2 separate regions of the Homo sapiens genome follow, and region 1 is linked to region 2. The links are contacts of gene promoters, found by promoter capture Hi-C in human tissues and cell types (Jung and others, 2019). All regions are on one chromosome and are shown on one strand. Each heading gives the region's core, a stretch centred on a gene start or on the middle of the fragment in contact. The rest is flanking DNA. Distances are from core to core; before and after follow the strand shown.

Region 1 (4,653 bases), core at 1,814-4,313, 140 kb after region 2:
TGAGCTAAGGAATAGAGGCAACCTGGGATGGTGATGGCAGCAGGAATCAGAAAATGGAGAGGAGAGAAAGAGATCAAGGTCTGTTTTGTCAGTTTCCCTCCTCTTCCTCCCCTGAGTCAGGTTGGTAGTCTAATGCATGTGGTTTATCAAAATGATCTAAAAACACTGGGTTGGACACCATGCTGTCTATTCAATTCACTTTCACTGAGCACTTAACTCCAGGCAAAGCCTTGTGACAGGTAGCTTTGGAGATACTAGTATGAGTTGCATACTAACTTTCACTTCACGGAGCTTGAAAACATTAGGGAGAGTCATCATGTATAGAAATAAATGCTGTGATAATTCAAAACAAGAACATGTTATTTTTGGAGGGTAGAATCTGGAAAGGTTTTATGAATGAGGAGGAATTCCAGACAGACTTCAAATGATGACATTTGGGTGACAGGAGAGCTGGAGGAGTCTCAGAACATGATCATAGACTGGGCAGTAAGACTTGGTCATTGGTGTGTGTGTATATTGCTGGAGTAGAGAGGAGGCTTTAAAAATGAAAGCTAATGCATCTGGGGCTTAATACCTAGGTGATGGGTTGATAGGTGCAGCAAACCACCATGGCACATATTTGCCTATGTAACAAACCTGAACATCTACGTACATATCTTGGAACTTTCAATTAAGTTTAAAAATAAATAATAAATAATGAAGATAGTCAAGATCATTCCCAGAGGTTCCAATGAACAAGGCCTAGGAATCTGTATGTTCAAAGCACTGCCCATGAGTCTGATCCAGAGGGTGCAAGAACCACACTTGGAGAAATGCTGGTCTACAGGAGAGAAGGCGGACTTCAGTGGTAAAAATTCTTGAAGGGCATCTGTGTGGTGTAAACCTGGAAATACTAGTAGAGCCACACACACGTAAGTCTTACATTCTCAGTGCTTTATTTTGTAACGTAGCTACCATTTTTTGAGGAGTCATTATAAACGAGATCCTCAAAAGAACATTGTGGGCAAGTCACTCTAGTCTCACTTAAGATGAGGGTACCTAACCTAAGACTTGGTTAAGTAACACATTCAAGGTTCCCCACATAGTAAGTGGAAAAGCTGGGATTCATACCCAGTTGGTCTAATACGTAATGGGTGCAGGAAGTCAAAGTGATGAGAACAGAGATTTAGGATGACAATTGACTGCATGATGAAAGAAGAAACTGGTGGTAGGGCTCTAGTGTAACAGCTCAGACAGACAAGGGTTAGGTACGAAAGATCTGCCCCAGTTGCAAGAGAAGGGAGATGTTGCATGAATCCCTACAACTTTTTGTCAGACTGAATCACATGAGGTTGAGTAGGACAACCACACTTATTGGTGTCTCAAGATTTTGGCAAGGTAGCAGAAGCCTTGCATAACCACTTACAGAAACCTTTCTCCTTTGGGACTCCTAGTACTTGGTTACTGTGTGTGTCTGTTAAATATGATTTATTTACTCCCAAGTCTTTCCGGCGCACAGTGGAAAAATAAGTGGTTGAAATCAGAACTCCTGGGATCAAATCCTAACACACTCCTTAATCTCGGGGTGATGCCGTGCATTTAAATATTTTTATGCCTCAGTTTTCTCATCTGTAAAATGCAGAGAGAGTAGCTACATCTTCAAACAGTTGATAATGGGGTTTAAATGAAATAACACCTGTTAAAGGCTTGGAACCACCTCTCATACAGAATAAGCACTCATGAAGTGTTAGCATTTACTCATTGCAACTTTTTAAATACAGAGTCTTGCTTGGTCACCCAGGCTGAAGTGCAGTGGCGTGATCTCGGCTCACTGCAACCTCCGTCTCCTGGGATCAAGCAATTCTCCCGCCTCAGCCTCCTGAGTAGCTGGGATTACAGGTGCCCGCCACTGCACCTGGCTAATTTTTGTATTTCTAGTAGAGACGGGGTTTCGCCATGTTGGCCAGGTTGGTCTCAAAACTCCTAACCTTAAGCGATCCACATTCCTCAGCACCCCCAAAGTGCTGGGATTAGAGGCATGAGCCACCGCGCCTTGCCTGATTGCTACTTTTAAATTCTATTTTGATTTTGAATTTCTTCAATTTCCAGAATTTGTGAAATTAGGATTTGCTTCTTGCTAGGTTTATTAACCATAGGCTTATTTGTTCACTGATGACCGAAGTTTCTATGTCAAGTGTCTGTCTTTTGAAGAGCACAACAATGGACAGTGATCAAGAGGAAATGTCTCTGCTTAATTTTATTGTTTTCGCATCATCTAAGGAGTGTGAAGTGGGTTGATAATTCAGTCCTAGAAGGACATTGGAATGTTAAAGAGGAAACCTATTGTTGCAATTATATCAAACTTGGCTCTTCCAGTGACAGAGAGAAGCTCCATCATGGTAGGATTTCCTTCTTAAAATGCAAACAAGGCACTGCTCAAGAGAAGGAAGGAGAATATTTTCTTTTTAATCATGCTGCCTAGCAATGTCTCTGGGGCTGTTACGGAGGTAGCTTTTATATACGACTCACATAAGTTTAATGACTAAAGGTTGTTATTGTGTTACTGTTTTTCTCCCTCCAGAGGAAGTAATGCAGCAACTCTGTGTTTGAAGACTCTTCTCATTAGTCTTTTTATTTATTTGAAATTGGTGCCATCATCTGCATAAATCATGGCAATTCTAAGAAGCCTGGCACTGAGTATGGCTGGCTGTTAAGAAAATACGCTAAATTACTGAAAGAGCAGCTTTGCATAGTTAGGAAGAGGGTTCTACTCTAGAGTTCTCAGAGGAAGTTAAATTTATGATGGAGGCAAAAGAATGAGACCGAGCCAGATATTTAGACCTTAGGGAAGAGTAATCCAGGTGGAAGGAAGAGTTGGTGCAAAACTGTGAGCCTTTGCCAGGAAAGATACGACACATTTGAGGAGCTGTAAGAAGTTCTGTGTGCTTGTGTGTGGTGAGCAAATGAGAAGACGGTGTGAGTGGAGAAATGCCAGAAGCCAGAGGAATAGGGCTTTGAAGTCCATGATTTCCTTCTGAGTAGAACTGAAGCCATTGAGCACATCTAAGCAGGGCTGTAAGATATTCTGATTTATATATTTTAAAACATTCCTCTGATCTGGTAGAGAATAGATTAAAGACAAAATTAGAGACAGAGGGTCAGTTGGGAGGTTAGTGCTGTCTGCAGTGGAATATAGTAGATACTTAGTGAACTTTGTTAAAAAAAATACTACACAGTTTATTTTCTCTTGGGTGCTTGAGTTGAAGAAAAATTGTGGATTATTCTAAAGTTAGTGTGTACATGAAAATAAGCAATTGTAACCCCTGAAGAGCTGCAGAAGCTTCTTAACTTTTCTGGAAATCGTTTCAGAATTCTGAAAATTAAGCCCAGTACCTGTGTGTGGGTGTGGAAGCTTCTCTACAGCTTGGCTTGTCTAACCTGAGAGCACAACACAACAGTTTTAGAGTGCATTGAAGAAAGTGAAAAGCCTGGTCTCCAAGAAGGGAAGCGTCTGTCAGTTAGAGGTCATTTACTTAAAAAAATAAAACCAGAGACAGAAGAGTCTAGTGGAAGTGGGTGCAGGATGCTGAAAAAATAGAAATGTCAATGTCATAGTTACCAGCAGGAACTGAATCAGTTGTGGGGGAAAATGGACAATGGGGCACCTACTCTTCAGGGGCAATGGGATCCATCCTGCACGAGGCCCAGGGCATGGACATGACCCACCCTGAGGAGCCTACTCAGCACTAGACAGGGACTAAGCTAATTTGGAAACTTCTGACACTCTGAGAATAATTGCAAGTCAGTTTGGCCAAGGGCAAATGACTGCCAATGGTGAAGTCATTTTGCAGAATTTTGCTTACCCAAACACTACAGCTGGAGGAAATAAATGAAATTTAAGCAGTATATTGGACTCCCAGAGAGAAACTTGTAAGGTAGAAAAGGAACCCATTTAAAGAACCTTAGCTCTTCTTAGAAATCCATGGAATTAATGAAATCCAGCTCTCTCTCCCTAGTTGACCTCAGTTTCCTCGTTTCAGTCCAGGCCTGGTACCGAGAATCAGGTTTTTAGAAGTATTATCTGAGCCTGCTTAGAAGTCACTTGATTCTTCTTGCTCACAAGCAAGGAAGCTAAGATCAATGAATCTTGGCTTCATGTCGTTGGAAGCTATATTTTTACTCAGAACTGGGAAGAGTGCTTTAGTATTGTAGCTGCCTGGCAATGGAACAGACTGCCTTGGGAGACAATAATAATAATATCAGGTTAACATTTATTGAGCATATACTATGTGCCAGACACTAGGCTAAGTGTTTCACATGCATTATCTTACCTGGTTCATAGCAGAGATCATTTTACAGAGAAAGAAACCAAGGTTTAGAAGAGTTAAGGCTGGTGCCTAAGGTCACACAATTCTACATTTTTATCCCTGGGGTGGGGTGGTCCTTGGTAAATAGAAACTGGGTGTTTCAAAGAATAAATGAAAGAATTAACTTGATTAAATTCAAGAAATGTTTTTGAAAAGCTATTATGGGTCAAACAGAGTGTTCGGCATTTTTGGATAAACAAAGACCAATATGATCTAGGTTATGGCTGGAAGATCCTTCCAGACTACTAGGAACAATTTAGCATATGCTTTCTAATTTATAAAATTAAGCATTTACAAAGTTCTAGAA
Region 2 (4,546 bases), core at 422-2,921:
CTGACCAGCTGCATATATGAGCAGCAAGGCAGGGATCAGCGGCTGCTTCTCCCACTAGCTGCTTTCTAATCTGGCCGATGAAACCTGCGTCTGTTCTCAAGGTGGTGAACGGGAGGGGACCCTCGTTTGTATTTCTCGTGCCTCTAGAGAGGTCCAGATATTGGGTTTCTGATCTAACCTAGAAGCTCGTGAGCTGGCTGCTGCTTTGGAGAGCAGTATGTACTGGGGGGCTCTAGAAAACAGATGGGAAGGAATAGGCTCGTCTCACCGTGATTAATAGCAAGTTCCCCTTACAAGTTTAACATGCAAACCTAGTGTTGGGTCCAGTCCGCCTCTGCTGGGTAAGCTCTTCCCAGAACTTCAGGGAAATTACAGTGCCCGCACACAGAGAGGCTTAAACTCTCCCCGGGAATTTCAGCTGAGCGTGAGGGCCTGGAGAAGTTCCCCCAGGGGGAATGGGGAATAGAGGGCAGCTTAGAGAGCTGAGCTCCTTCTGAGATGGGACCAGGAATTCCGGGGAGACTGATCAGGGTTTTTTCCCCTCTCGGAGAAACAGAGGATGGAGAGGGGCATGGAGGGGGTTGCGCTGCAGCCCTGGTCTCCACCCTCACCAAGCCTGGGTGCAAGGTACCGACCCTCTTCCTTCCTAGTTCCTTTCCCCGTCAGGCTACGGGGAAGGAAGTGGGCAGGAGGCGGGATCCAGCCCTGCACCCTGTCCCAGGCCCTTCAGGACAACAGCATAGAGGTGAAAAAAGATCATGTATCAAATTCCCGGCCAAGCCACTTAGTGGCAGCTGACTGATCTTGGGCAAATCACTCATTCTCGCTGAGCGGCGGCTTTCTTACCTGTAAACGGATCATGATGGCACCTGACTCATTAGGTCCCAGGAAGTATTAAATAAGATCGCACGTGTAAAACTACCAACGGCGGCTGGCACACAGTGGGCTTGCGGTTCTTAATACATATATTTTTAATTCTGTTAAGCATCAACCCTCCCGTGCGAAAGCTGAGTTGTCCTCTCAGACGGAGAACTCCCGTAGCGCAATCTTCCAGACCCGGGGTGCCTGGGCGCCAGCATTCTCCCCGCGCCCAGGAGCTCACATTCTCCTCCCGTCACCCCTAGATCTGGCTTGGGGAGGCCGCCCCTCTGCATCCTCCCCAGCTTTGGCCCGGGGAGGCTCTGAGACCCGGGTGAGGGCGCGGAGGGGGTGCGCGCGGCGGTTCTACCCGGGCAGCATCCCAGCCGCAGCTTTCCCACCCCCTCCCCAGCGCCCAGCGCGCAAAAAGAGAGAAAGCGAGAAAGGCGCGGATACTGGACCAGGCTTTGACGCGGATCTTGAGCTCGCCGTCCTGAGGCTCGGGCATGGCCTTCCTGAAGAGCCGCAGCTTGTTGAGCCCCCCGAAGCCAGCCAGCACCACCGCGCGCATCTCCTGGGCGTCCCCGAGGCGGTGCGAGCCGTCGCCGCCGCCGCCCTCCGCCGGCTCCTTGCCTGCCTCCTTCTCGATCATTTGCTCCGTCTCCTCCGCCTTCTCCACGCCTTCCTTGGCCATGGCGCTCGAGGGCGCGGGGCGCACGGGCTGCGGTGGCTGCGGTGGCTGCGGCGCTGGGGGAGTGGGGCTCCTCTCCCGCGGGTTCCTCCTGTTGAATGTGGGATGCTCGGCTGTGCAATGGCTGCAGCCTCTGCGAGCGCCGCCGCGGTCCACAGCCTCCGCCGTAATCCTCACAAGAGCCGTGCCCTAAGCGCTTCACCCCCGCCCCACCCTTCTTTCCTGTCCCAACGAAGCCTCAACTCCAGTTCCTGAAATAGTCCCAAGTTAGGGTCGGGATCGCGGCCCTAAACCCAAATTTGCCGAAGATCTGTGACTAAAACGAGCCTAGAGAGACCACCCTGTCATCCCCCTTCCTGTGGGCCCAGTACTTGGTTATATACGGCACAGGCTCGGGTGCCTTGAAATGGACCGAGACTAATGTCTGGGCCTGGAGGATGCCTTACCGCGACAAGGTTGCCCTCTCTCCCTCCCATCTTCGAGGCTGGGCGGGATAGTCGGGAAATTGGGTCGTTTCTCAAACAGCCAGTTTTGGGTGGAAGGGCGGAGAGGTTTGGGAAGCAGGGAACTAGAGATCCCGCTCACTGCCCTGAAGAGTCCAGTGCAGGGTCTTTTCACTCCAGACCTGCAGGGTCAGCCGGGATGCTCTTTGCTGGGTATCACCAGGGGCTTCCTTACGACGGCGAATTCTCACCACCCACACCATTTCGGGCTATTAAAGAGGCTTCAGACAAGAATCCTGTACCAGAAAGGATCCTGTTCGTGTTCTGATCCCCGGAAGACCAGTGTGTACCCGCTCCCCAACATGCATGCACATACACAGAGTAGTAACTGGCGTTTTGTTTTGTTATCAGGCTCTTTGAGAAAAACAGCTCATAGAAAAACTTGGAATTTCTGAAATAAAATAATGGGGAAGGACGTGGTTTTCCTAGGGGCAGTTTAAGGAAAGAGATGCAGGTGAGGAAGTAGGTCTATATTCTATTATAGTTGCTATGCCATTGCCAGCCTTGAGATCTTGGGCAACTCATTCAACCTTCCTGAGCCTCAACACACTCATCTATAAATTGGGTACATTGATTTTTTTTTCTATATTGTGTGAAGTGCTGGGGTGGACATGATTTCAGTGAGACATGGTCCTTATATTGGAAAAGGTCAATTTCAGAGCATGAGGCATGAAGGACACAGTCAACAAATGTGGTACAATGAATGATGTAAGTGCTGCCTCTTCTCTCCCCTCATTCTTCCTGTGCCTCACTGCTTTAAATGCCCTTGTCTTCTATTCCTTAAAAAAAAAAAAAAAAAAAAAAAAGACGATTGCCATTTTCCCTCCTTCCACAGGGTTCTGCACCTGCTGTCCCCTTGGCCTGGGGTATGTGTTCCATCTCCTTTATCTGGTGTTAACTCCTACTTCGTTCTCACCTCAAGGGTCCATTCCTGTTGGGAGGCACTCCAACCTCCAGATTGGTGTCCTCCCTGACTATAGACACTTATGTCCCTTTGTAGCCAACTTTTATATGTTTACCTGATAATATCTGTTTCCTTTATCCAACTGTGAACTTCATGTGAGCAGGAGCTATTTCTACTTTTATCCAGCGTGGTTTTCCCAGGGCTTAATACATGATTGGTACATAGTAGAATATGCACAGAGGCAGCCTGTTGAAAAACTGGTCCAGAGAGTTGGAGAAGTTCTCATGGAGGAGGGAACATTTGGGCTAGACCTTGAAGGATAAGGCAGGTTCTTCTGGCAGAAAAGGTCGCAAGCTCATTCAAATAACACAGAAAGGTAACAGGTAAAAGGGCTTTTGAGATTCTGGTTTGTTCTATGTAGGCAGAACATTGGCTGTATTTAGCAATCATTGGAGATGAGGCTGAAAGGTTTATTGGGACCAGCTTTTGAAAGTTCTCACATACCAGGTTATAAAATTTAAGACATAATCACAGAGGCAATTGGTGCCATAAAGGCTTAAAAAACAAAAACATGGGGAGAGCATTACCAGAACTGCATTTTAGGATAATAACTTTGACAGTAAGTGGGTGATGGATTAGATGATAGAGTTACTGGAAGCATCGAGATCAGTTAGAGACTAAGTGCAGGCAAAAAAAAAAAAAAATCCCCAAAAAGAAACAAAATAAATGAGAATGGTCCCAACTGAGGCAATGGCCATGGGATGGAAGGAAGAGGGCTAAAAGAAGCCTGAATAGGGCTTGGTTAGTGAATTGAACATTTTATTGTGAATCCAATTGTCCAAATTGTTTGTCTTGTTTACATTGTGAGATACAGTGTTTAGGCTGGATTCTGTCCTGAAACAAGAATTTGAACACCCGTCGTTTATTTTGGAAGTAATCCCAGGAAGCTCTGGCTGGGAAGTAGGAAAGTGAGACAGAAAATTGATACTACCCAATATGAGATGTATTAATAAGCAGATTACCGCAGTGGACAATTGGAGCTCAAACCCGCAGGGGACATTTGAGAGACAGTGTAGAACAAGTCTCAGAGTTGTCTCACCCAAGGAGTGAGGACATAGGTATTTATTCACTAAAGTCTATGCTTGATTGGTCAAGAACTGTTCCTGGAATTGTTAACTCCTTGACATTTCCATCCTGTCCCATGTACTTGGGCTGAGAGAATCCCCAGGCAGAGAATTGTGGATGCTCTTTGCAGGAAGCTATCATTTTATACATGGAATGATGAATTCCATGGAGACATAGCTTTGGCACCAATAATATCTGCAATATATGTTATTGTTTTGGAGGTGTCTACTGTTCTAGACACTGTAGGTATATTTCTTAATTTGATTCTGAAAATAATCTCATGAGTAAGAATTCCTATTCCCACTTTATGGAAGAGGAAAATGAAAATGAATCTTAACATGATGAATTATTGTGCTCAAAGGAACATGCTAGTTATAATGAGATAGAAGACCAACTCCAAATCTGTGCTCTTAAGATCTCATCATGCATGTTTATACGGACAGGCCAAACCAGTTCTGCCCCTGA

Evidence for each region. Contacts are between HindIII fragments. The study calls those that stand out against the background at their distance.
Region 1: a contact is called between a fragment that was not itself captured here and the fragment with the promoter of VAT1L in region 2, in 2 of the 25 tissues and cell types used here (adrenal gland and neural progenitor cells).

Annotation. Positions count from the first base shown.
Region 1 is chr16:77,649,270-77,653,922 of GRCh38, reverse strand. No RefSeq gene overlaps it. Among named protein-coding and RNA genes, the nearest start is that of LINC02131, 61 kb to the right of the region's middle. The HindIII fragment of the contact is 6,352 bases long and covers 1-4,653 here.
Region 2 is chr16:77,785,689-77,790,234 of GRCh38, reverse strand. VAT1L (vesicle amine transport 1 like) reads right to left here and starts at 1,671. Exons shown (of 9, transcript NM_020927.3): 1 at 1,320-1,671. The coding sequence starts at 1,552. The region is part of intron 1 of LOC107984878 (a long non-coding RNA gene); the gene reads left to right. The HindIII fragment of the contact is 13,812 bases long and covers 1-4,546 here.